Linked DNA regions of Homo sapiens: region 1 is linked to region 2. Evidence: promoter capture Hi-C in human tissues and cell types (Jung and others, 2019). All regions are on one chromosome and are shown on one strand. Each heading gives the region's core, a stretch centred on a gene start or on the middle of the fragment in contact. The rest is flanking DNA. Distances are from core to core; before and after follow the strand shown.

The links. The method cuts DNA at HindIII sites, captures the fragments that hold promoters and counts their contacts. A contact is called where the count stands out against the background at its distance.
Region 1: a fragment that was not itself captured here is called in contact with the fragment with the promoter of ZBTB46 in region 2 in 1 of the 25 tissues and cell types used here (IMR-90 fibroblasts).

The regions. Positions count from the first base shown.
Region 1 is chr20:63,698,209-63,702,964 of GRCh38, forward strand. ARFRP1 (ARF related protein 1) reads right to left here. Exons shown (of 8, transcript NM_001267547.3): 5 at 3,928-4,009; 6 at 3,622-3,692; 7 at 2,394-2,494; 8 at 439-2,322. The coding sequence ends at 2,235. It overlaps TNFRSF6B (TNF receptor superfamily member 6b), which reads left to right. Exons shown (of 3, transcript NM_003823.4): 3 at 72-476. The coding sequence ends at 355. It overlaps RTEL1-TNFRSF6B (RTEL1-TNFRSF6B readthrough (NMD candidate)), which reads left to right. Exons shown (of 38, transcript NR_037882.1): 38 at 72-490. Among named protein-coding and RNA genes, the nearest start is that of TNFRSF6B, 3.9 kb to the left of the region's middle. RefSeq lists enhancers at 694-743, 984-1,163, 1,234-1,283, 1,332-2,213, 1,354-1,433. The HindIII fragment of the contact is 4,084 bases long and covers 667-4,750 here.
Region 2 is chr20:63,829,074-63,833,911 of GRCh38, forward strand. ZBTB46 (zinc finger and BTB domain containing 46) reads right to left here and starts at 2,191. Exons shown (of 5, transcript NM_001369741.1): 1 at 2,024-2,191. RefSeq lists an enhancer at 1-626 and a silencer at 2,209-2,348. The HindIII fragment of the contact is 9,346 bases long and covers 1-4,164 here.

The sequences.
Region 1 (4,756 bases), core at 1,459-3,958, 130 kb before region 2:
GGGTACCTGGCAGCCCCCGCCAGTGTGTGTGGGTGAAATGATCGGACCGCTGCCTCCCCACCCCACTGCAGGAGCTGAGGAGTGTGAGCGTGCCGTCATCGACTTTGTGGCTTTCCAGGACATCTCCATCAAGAGGCTGCAGCGGCTGCTGCAGGCCCTCGAGGCCCCGGAGGGCTGGGGTCCGACACCAAGGGCGGGCCGCGCGGCCTTGCAGCTGAAGCTGCGTCGGCGGCTCACGGAGCTCCTGGGGGCGCAGGACGGGGCGCTGCTGGTGCGGCTGCTGCAGGCGCTGCGCGTGGCCAGGATGCCCGGGCTGGAGCGGAGCGTCCGTGAGCGCTTCCTCCCTGTGCACTGATCCTGGCCCCCTCTTATTTATTCTACATCCTTGGCACCCCACTTGCACTGAAAGAGGCTTTTTTTTAAATAGAAGAAATGAGGTTTCTTAAAGCTTATTTTTATAAAGCTTTTTCATAAAACTGGTTGTAGTTGCACAGCTACTGGGAGGGCAGCCGGGGACACCTGAGCCGCCCGCTGTGCCCAGATCCCTCAGGCTGCCTGCCATCAGAACTGCTGCCCGGGGCTTCCCCTACCTCAGACAGACCCTCCCTGGGAGGATCAGTGGGGAGTGCCACCTCTGCCCCCAGTGGCTGTGGCACGTGGCAGGGGCCCCTGAAGCTCAGCGAGGGTCAGGGCCTGGGAGGGTATCATTGCTGGAAGAACAGGATGGGGCTCAGGCCAGCCCTAGTCGCCGGGGCCCACACTAACCCCCCACTTATGAATTCCTCCCACTCCCAACTCACAGGGGATTTCCCGAGAGGGGACCTGCCAAAGACCTCCTCCAGGCCTCCCATGCTTTCCGGGAAGTGAAGCTTCTCCCTCTCTGGGGCAGGCTCTGAAGCCTCCCGATGCACCCAGAGCAACCGGGGGGCTGCACCAGCCACTCGCCTCCCCAGCACGGCCAGGTTCCCGGGGCTGGAGGTCCCCCCCAGGTCCTGGGAACCAACCTGCAGAACACACACAGGGTCCCCTGGAGAGGACGCGGGGACTTCCAGGGCCCGACTCCTGTGAGTCACAGCCCCGCAGCTGCTGCGCCACCCCCACCCTGACTCATGCCCCTTCCCAGCAGCTCCTCCCAGGACCCCATGTCCTTCCCACATCCGCAGGAAGGGAGTGCCTGGACTCTCCAGGCCCACCTGGGGAGCCCCTCACCTGCCCACCAGCCCCTGAGCAGCCCAGTAACACCATCACCGTGTCCAACAGCCAGGAGCCTCCACCCTCCAGGAGGGAAGGGATGGACAGAGCCACACTCGCCGTCTTTATTTTGCACTCACCCTGGGTGACACTGGGCAGGCCGCTCCTGCCCACAGCCAGACTGAGGAAGAACACAGCACTCGGCAGGCCCAGTGGGGTCCGTGCAGGGAGGACCCCAGGACCAGCCTTACTCCCGAGCAGGGGACACAGGGCCCCACAGAGAACCCCTCCGGGAGGTTCTCTCCTGGCTGGGGGAGGGCTCTGGACCCCCACAAACACTCCCCAACTTGCGGGGCTGGGGCATAAAAACAGCCACTCCCAGCAGGCCCCCTCAGCTTTTTGCATCAGTCAGCTCCCTCCCGGGGGATTAGGGTGAGGTGAAGCCAGGCCCAGGCGTGGGGTATAGGTCTTCCCCCGCAGGCCTCAGCCCTGTCCCGAGGCTGCATCACAATCCAGGGCCCCCGCTGGCCTTTGGGAACATGGCCTGGGTCTTCCTCAAGGCAAGATCAGCCCCAGACCACTTCCGGGGTCACGGGGTCACGGGGTCACAGGGCAGAAGCCAGATGGCAGCCATGGCTGACGGGCCTCCTCCTCGATGGGGCGGAGACAGCCACGGGGTCTCCCGAGGGTCCCACAGGGCTGTCCTCATGCAGCCCAAGCCAGCCTGAGCACTGGAGCCCCAATTCCCAACCAGGTCTCCCTCAGACCCCCCAGAAAGGGCCTCGAAAGGCCGCCGCTGCGCCCTGTGGAAAGGCTGCCGCTGCAGGGCCTGGGCCAGCCGGGCTGCCAGACTCCCCTCCAAAGCCTCCGGATGCCTACGCTTTTCCAGACATAGAGGAAAGTTTGTCTTCGAGAAAACAAAGTAAATAGAAGAACCCCAAAGCAAAGCAAACCCACCCCCCAGATCAGCAGCATGGGAGCCAACAGGAGGCCACTCCTCCAGCACCAGGGGACCAGCCGTCCCGACGGCAGCGCGGCTGCGCCTACGTGATGTCCCTCTGCCGCGGCGGCCGGTGCACATTCCGCACGACACACTTCACCATCCACTCGATGCCCTCGCGCACCCCTTTGCTGTGAAGACAGCGGGTGTGAGGCGGGGGGTCTCGGTCCCCAAAGCCCCCGCAGGTGCAGCCCCCACTCACCCTGTGAGGGCCGAGCAGGCCTGGGTCAGGCAATCTCGCCTGCCGATCTTGCTGGTGCAGTCGCTGAAGGCCGTCTTGATGTCAGGGATTGAGAGGCACGTCTGGGGGAGGTAAGGCCGTGAGGAGCAGCCCCCACGTCTGGCCCTGTCCTGCCTGTGGGCCCGGGACTCTCAGAAGGGCGTATGCCCTTCACCCCAGGGAAACAGCCAGAGCTCCACCAGGGTCCCAGTGTCTCCCACAGAGACCACAGCAGTGAGGACCCTGTGCTCAGCCCGAGGCTGAACATGGCTGGTAGTGCCTGAGACAAACTAGACGTCCACACGGCTCCAAGGAGTCCACCCCCCATCCCCTCCCTGGGGGACACCCTGAGCCCCGAGGTGGGGCGCTGAGGACTGAGGCCTCCTGGGCAGTGGCGGAGGCAGGTCCCAGGGGCCCACACAGCCGGGGATGATGGAGAGGTGGGAGCCCTGCATCAGTGATGGAGGCAGTCTGCAGTCATGGTGGCTTCTGCTCACAACCACCTGCCCAGTCTTCAAAAAGCAGCCCTCCCCTCCCCTTTTCCTCCGAGGGGAGACCCCTGCCCCGTACCAGATGTCCCTCTTGTCGGCTGAGATTGTAGGGGAGGCCAGCCTTACAGGCTGGGGGCAACAGAGCCACCCCAGAGAAGGCAGGAAGTGAAGATTCACCTGGCCCTCTGGACGCCGGGCTGCTTCTGTGCAAAGCCACTCCAAGAGAACAGCTAGAACTCAGCGTGGCCAGTGCTCCCGGGGGCAGTGGCACCTCAGAGGGGTCTTGAGGGGCTGCCCTGGGGGTGGGGCTGGCACAGATGCCACCTCCAAGGGTAGCAGGAACAGGTAAGGGTCAGAGCTGACTCCCACCAGGGCCCCAGCATCACTTCTTTGAGCTCTGAGTTTCACCTGGGTGTCCCCACAGCTTGGCCACACACTCCTGAGACACGGCCGCCCTCCTGGGGAGAGGTGCCCTGCATAGCAGGAAGAGGCCTCTGGGCGCCTGCCCTGAGGTGGGAGAACCTCCAGGGCTGGCAGCAGCAGGTCTGGAGAGGAACCAGGCTTGGGAAGCTGCTGGGGGCAGGGCAGGCCTTGAGAATGGCTCTGTACCCCCTGGGCAGTCACTGGGCCTGGGGTGTCTGGGTGCACACCTGCTCCCCTTGCTGTGGGGGAGGCTGGGGACTCGGGAAGCTGCTGCGGGAGGCAGGGGTGGGGCTCACCTCCACATCCTGCTTGTTGGCCAGCACCAAGACGGGGACACCGCACAGCGCCTCGCTGGTCACCACCTTCTCTGGGGAGGGCAGGAGAGGCAGCGCCTCACACCCAGCATCCTGCCTCTGACTGCCCAGGGGCCCACAGGCGTGGACACTGTGACAGCCACTCCCTCTGCCCCCCCCCCCCCCGTCACCCACTAGGCAGGAGCACTTCTGACCAGACACTGAGCCTGCCCCAGGCACAGAGCTGCCCAAGCTGGACCTGCCCCCACTCACCATCCATCCCTCCCAGAGCAGCCAGGCCGCACTCACCAAACGCCTGCTTGGACTCAGCCAGCCTCTCCTCGTCGGTGGAGTCAATGACGTAGATGACGCCGTGACACTCCGCATAATACTGGGAGGAAGCACCAGGAGTTGGGGCTCAGTCCCCACCCTGCCAAGGGCCAGCAGAGCCAGGCCTGTGTCATGGCCACAGTGAGGGGCTCACATGAGGAAGGGGCAAGAGGGCAGCCCCCAACTGCAAGACCCTTCTGGGATGCATTCTGGGGTTGCGGGGAGATCTGGTGGAGGTGTCCCCAGACGCTGCTCCTGAGAACCTGCCGGCAACCTTTGGCCTGATGGTGGCCAAAGGTGAAAGACAGGGATTGGGCCAGGCGTGGTGGCTCACACTTATTATCCCAACACTTTGGGAGGCAGAAGCAGGAGGATCACCTGAGCCCACTTCACGGCCAACCTGGGCAACACAGTGAGACTCCGTCTGTACAAAAGCTTATGGTAATGTGCGCCTGCAGTCCTAGCTACTCGGGAGGCTGAGGTGGGAGGATGGCTTGAGCCTGGGAGGTTGAGGCTGTAGTGAGCTCTGATCACACCACTGCACTCCAGCCTGGGTGAGAATGAGAGACCCTGTCTCAAAAAAAAGATAGGGTTTGGGGGCTGGAGGAACCTAGACCACAGCCTGGCCCGTTGAGGGAGTGCACCTGTGGGGCTCTGTGCCAGCACCTCGCACAGGGAGGGAGTGTGGCCATGCGGATAAGACTGACCAGCGCCATCTACGAAGCGAGCCTTCCCTGCCAGGACAGGGCCAGAGTCACTGAGCTCAGACCTCTGCAGCCTGGGCTGGTCAGTCCTGGGCTCGCTGGCA
Region 2 (4,838 bases), core at 941-3,440:
GCATTTCCTCTAAATCCTTGGAGCAGTTTCACCGTTCACAGGGTTTACCTCCTGACCTCTGTGACCACCAGGGGCTGGGGAGGGACGGAGGACGCAGGGCACTGGGTCAGCCTGGCCCTGGTGGAACTGACCTGGGGGCCCTTAGGTAACAGTCCACCCAACCCGAACATCCGAAACAGGAGTGGAACTCAGGTCTGAGCACAGAACGACTCATCCTCACACAAAACAGCTAAACCCGAACAGAAATCACCTCATCTAAGCAAAAGAAAACTCTCACGTTCAGGATAATGCTGTCAGTGAGAGGCTTAATTAAATGCTTGTCCCCAGGCTGGCCTGAAGGCAAGGCGGAATTTCGGATTTCTAAACACCTCAAAGTGAGTGCATTCCACGCCCCAAGGAGAAATCTGACAGTAACTCCCCAGCCCTCTTCCTTCAGTTACGGAGAAGATGTCTAGCTTTTTAGGGGACACAGTAAGTTCCCACCTAAATTTGCAGTAACTTGTGCCCAAGTACTCCCCTCACTCCTCAGTCCTTTCTGCAGTGGTAACCAGGCTGAGGTGCCCAAAAGTGCCAGTTGGAAACACGTAAAACACACCGAGCAGAAAGGTTCTACTCTGATAAATACTGTCGCTTGCTTCATTATTCATGTGAAAAACCCCTTCTATACATTTCCTTTTGATGAACAAACTATTTTCCACTCTTGTAGAGTGAAATAGTGCCTTGCAGAGGCAGCGTGAGTGCCAGCAGCAGAGATGTATCCAGTCTGTTACCCAAACGGGAAGTTAGCTCTGATAATAGAGCCAATATGAAAGATTCTACAATCGATACAATTAAAATGCCCGTGAGTTCTCGGCGCACAGGTGTCTGCGCCCAGGCCGCGCGCTAAACACGTTTCTAATTAGCATTTCTTTAAACAATGCTGATCACAATCTTGCCACCGTAATCCACTCCAAATGCATCGTTGAGATTGCAGCACGGAAAGCGAGAGAGGAAATTCGCTGCGAATCTCAAACTTTCTTTTGTTTATATTTCTTCGCTGTCAGAAAATATCCGTTCTTCGCCCCATCTGGTCTGTACCCTGGCTCCTCGGTCCAGCCCTATTGTGTGTGCTTCGTTAAACCTACAAACAGTGAATCTGTCAGCGGGGCCAGGGGAACCCCAACTAGCAGGAGCCCTCCCTCTGGCGCAGAGAATTCCCCGTTTGCCTTAGGGATTGAGTTGTCAGACACCGGCTCGCGCTCCCCCGCGAAACTGACATGTCTATTTACAGAGAAACAAAGACGCGGCTCGCAGCGGACCCCGCTTCCTCCGCGCGCCCCGTCCGCCCCGCGCGCCCCGAGCCCTCCGCGCCCCGAGCCGCCCCGCCCCGAGGCCCCTGCGCCCCGGTTCGGCCGGCGATTAAGATGGAGACCAGGCCGGCGCCCGGCGTCCGGGGAGACAATGACCCCCCGGCCTCAGGGCGCCGGGACCCGCCCGCGCCCACCTCCCGCAGTTCCGACTCTTGGCAAACTCGGCGCGGGCGGCTCCGGGTGCGGCTGGGCTGTGCCGGCGGGGGGCGCGGGCGGGGGGCGCCAAGACGCCCCCGGGCTGCCTCGGGGCCAGGCGTTGACGCAGCAGAAATTACCAGCTGGAAAATTCCCCTCTCGGAGGTGCCGGGGAGGGAGCGCGGCGGCGGCGGGAGGTGCCGGGGGCCGAGGGGCCGGGGCAGCCCAGCCGCCTCCGCGCTCAGCCCCGCGGGGAACCCGCGCCGCCCCCGCGCGCCCCGCCCCGCGCCGCCGGCCTGGGGGGCACCCGCGGGGGCCGGGCCGGGGTCTCCGCCGCCGCCCCCGGAGCCCGCGCCGCAGCTGGGAGCGCCGATGGCCCCCGGGAGGGCGCCCCCGCGGGGCGGGGCGTGGCGGGGCGGCCGGCGGCGGGGGCGCGCCCGGGCTCGCAGCGGCCCCGGCTCCCGGCTCCCGGCTCCGGGCCCGGCCCCCGCCGCGATGCGCCCGCCCGGCCGCGCGGACAATGAGCCGGCGCCGCTTACCTGTGACCCCATGGGGCGCGGGCGAGGGCGGGCGCCGCGGCCGCCGGGCCGGCGCCGGTGATCGCCGCCGCCGCCGGGAGGGCGCTGCGTCCGGGCGGGTCCGAGCTGCGCGCTCGCCGGGGCTGCTCGGTCCGTCCGTCCGTCCGTCGGTCCGTCAGGCCGGCGCGCGCCCCCGCGCCCGCTCCAACCCCGCGGCCCCCGCCGCCCGCGCGCGCGCGCCCCGCCCGCGGACCCTGACCCCGCCCCCCGGCGCGCGCCCGGCCGCCGCTGATTGGCCCGCGCCGCGCCCCGGCCGCGGCCACCGCCCCGGGCCCCGCCCACGCCGGCCCGGCCGCCGGCCCCGCCCCTCGCTCGGCTCCCGGCGCCGCGCCGCGGGGTCGCAGGGGGCCGCGCCGGGGGTCCGTTCTCCCCCCCGCGGGCAGCCGGACAGCGGAAGTGCGGGCTGGAGCTCGCTGGGCATTGTGGGAAGCCCCCTCCCCTGGGCTGGCGGGGGGCTGGGGCGGCGCGGCGCGGGGGTCCCCCTGGCCCCCGCTGCGCCCTTGCCCCGCGAGCGCGGAGCAGCCTGGAAACACCCCACGGGAGCGGCGACCCCGGCGAGGGCACCCGCTCCCTTCCCGGGCCGCGCACCGGGCGCTGCCCACGCGCAGGTTCCTCGGGGGCGCGCGGGTGCCCAGGTCACCGGCCGTCCCCGCGCCTGACGCGCGGTTGCACTGCGCGCGTCTCGCAAACTTGGCGACTCCCCCAGCCCGGCCGGGCATCAACGCGGGCCGCTCGCGGTGCGGAAAAGGCGCCCCCAAGGAAGGCCGCCCGGGGTGCGGGGTCTGGAAGGGCCTGGGCACCGCGCGCGCCTACCCTCGGGGGCCTCGGCGCACCCGGAGATCGGCGCACCTCGGGCGCAGGCCTCGTGGGGGTGCCCGCCAGTGGGGCTCGCTTTTGGCTGACTAGGGGCACCGGCGGCCGCGCGTGGGTCCCTCCCGTCGTGTTGTCTGCGGGGGACGAATGGCTCCGGGAGGGGGCGGGAACCAGCGGCCCGGGCCTCGCCCCAGCCCGTGTGCAGCCCCGATCCGAACGGCCTGGGACGCGTCTCCACCACTCGGCGCCCGGACTCTGCGCGTCGCTTCTCGCCTCCGCCGTCCTCAGCCCTCGGGCGGGTAGAGTGGGAAGCGCGGCCCCGCATTCCTGGCCGGCCTGCGCAGGGGTAAAGGCCACCTCGCTTCCTCTCCCCGGGCGCGGCGGGAAGGGAGGTGAGCCTGTGGCCGGCAGCCGCGCGAGGGAGTCGAGCCCGGCCCGGCCAACCAATGGGGAGGCGCCCGGGCCGTCCAGCCTGCCTCCCTGCGGGCCCAGCGCAGCGGATTCCTCGGGAGGTGGGAGGCGGCGGCCCTATGGGTGCTTTCAAATCTGGATGTGTGAGGCGCATTCAGGAGCGGCAGTGGGAGGCGGCTGAGGGCTCTCCATGAGTGAGCAAAGGCGAAGCGAGGTGTGGCTGCCGGGACCAACGCCTGGGACACTCCCTTACTGCCGTCGCGGGCGCCTGGAAATGGCTGTGCGGACACCCCGTTCCCATCCCCTCGCCAAGGTCGCCGGGATGGCACTGCGGCCCAGGAAGCCCCGTCGCCGGCCTACCTCGCGCGGCACCCTCTCGGTGGCACTGCCTGCTCTGGTCTGAAACTGTAGCCCCAGCCTCACCGACCTTCGGGAAGTGGGGGCTGAGCACAACCACCCTGAGAAGAGGCGGCTTCCAGGAGGGTCTGGCGGGTCACGTGCATCCCCCTTGGAGAAAACAGCACTGCCTGCAGGAGCCCCCACCTGCCCACCCAGAGCCCAGTTGTACCCCACGGAGGAAAGGAGGCCTGGGGAGACAGGAGAGCTCGGGCCCACCGAGCCAAAGCAAGGAGGACCAGAGCCCTGATGCCTGCCCCAAGGGCCTCCCGCAGAGCCTGCCCATGCTCTCTTGCGCAAAAGAGAACCCCAGTCTCTCCCAAGATGTCTGGACCTCCCTAGACAGCCTCCAAGGAGAGCAGTGTTGATGGTTTGCCATGTCCGTTGTCCATGCAGGGATGGAGAGCAGCAGCAGCTGCCTGGCGGAACACACAGTGGCACTCAGTCATCGCTTAGGAGGCCTGCCCATAAGAACCAAACCTTGATCTCACCACGACCCAGGCCAACCCCACCTGCCAGGTTAGGGCTGCCTGTCTTGGTAGAAACTTGCTGAGGGCCGGGCGCGGTGTCTCACGCCTGTAATCCCAGCACTTTGGGAGGCCGAGGCAGGCGGATCACGAGGTCAGGAGATCGAGACCATCCTGGCTAACACGGTGAAACCCCGTCTCTACTAAAAATACAAAAAATTAGCCAGGCGTGGTGGCAGGTGCCTGTAGTCCCAGCTACTCGGGAGGCTGAGGCAGGAGAATGGCGTCAACCCGGGAGGTGGAGCTTGCAGTGAGCCAAGTTCGTGCCGCTGCACTCCAGCCTGGGCGACAGAGCAAGACTCTGTCTCAAAAAAGAAAAAAAAAGAAACGTGCTGAGTTCTAGAATGAACGGGGCGGATGAGGCTCTGGGCCCCCTCTCACCTGGGAGCCCCACTCCTCCCCGCTTCCCCCTCGGCAACACTGCCAGTGACGGGACAGAGACTCCTGACTTTTCTGCTCCAAGAACCAACAGAAGGTCAAGCAGCCTGGAGACGAAGACAGTATGTCAAAAAGGAAGAACCAAGACCGGTCTCAGAGACAGCGCCCTGATTAAGTCCTACAGACCGTTATTCCAAGAGCTGATAAACCCCATTACTATTTAAAAGAAAAACAAACAAAAACCAGCAGCA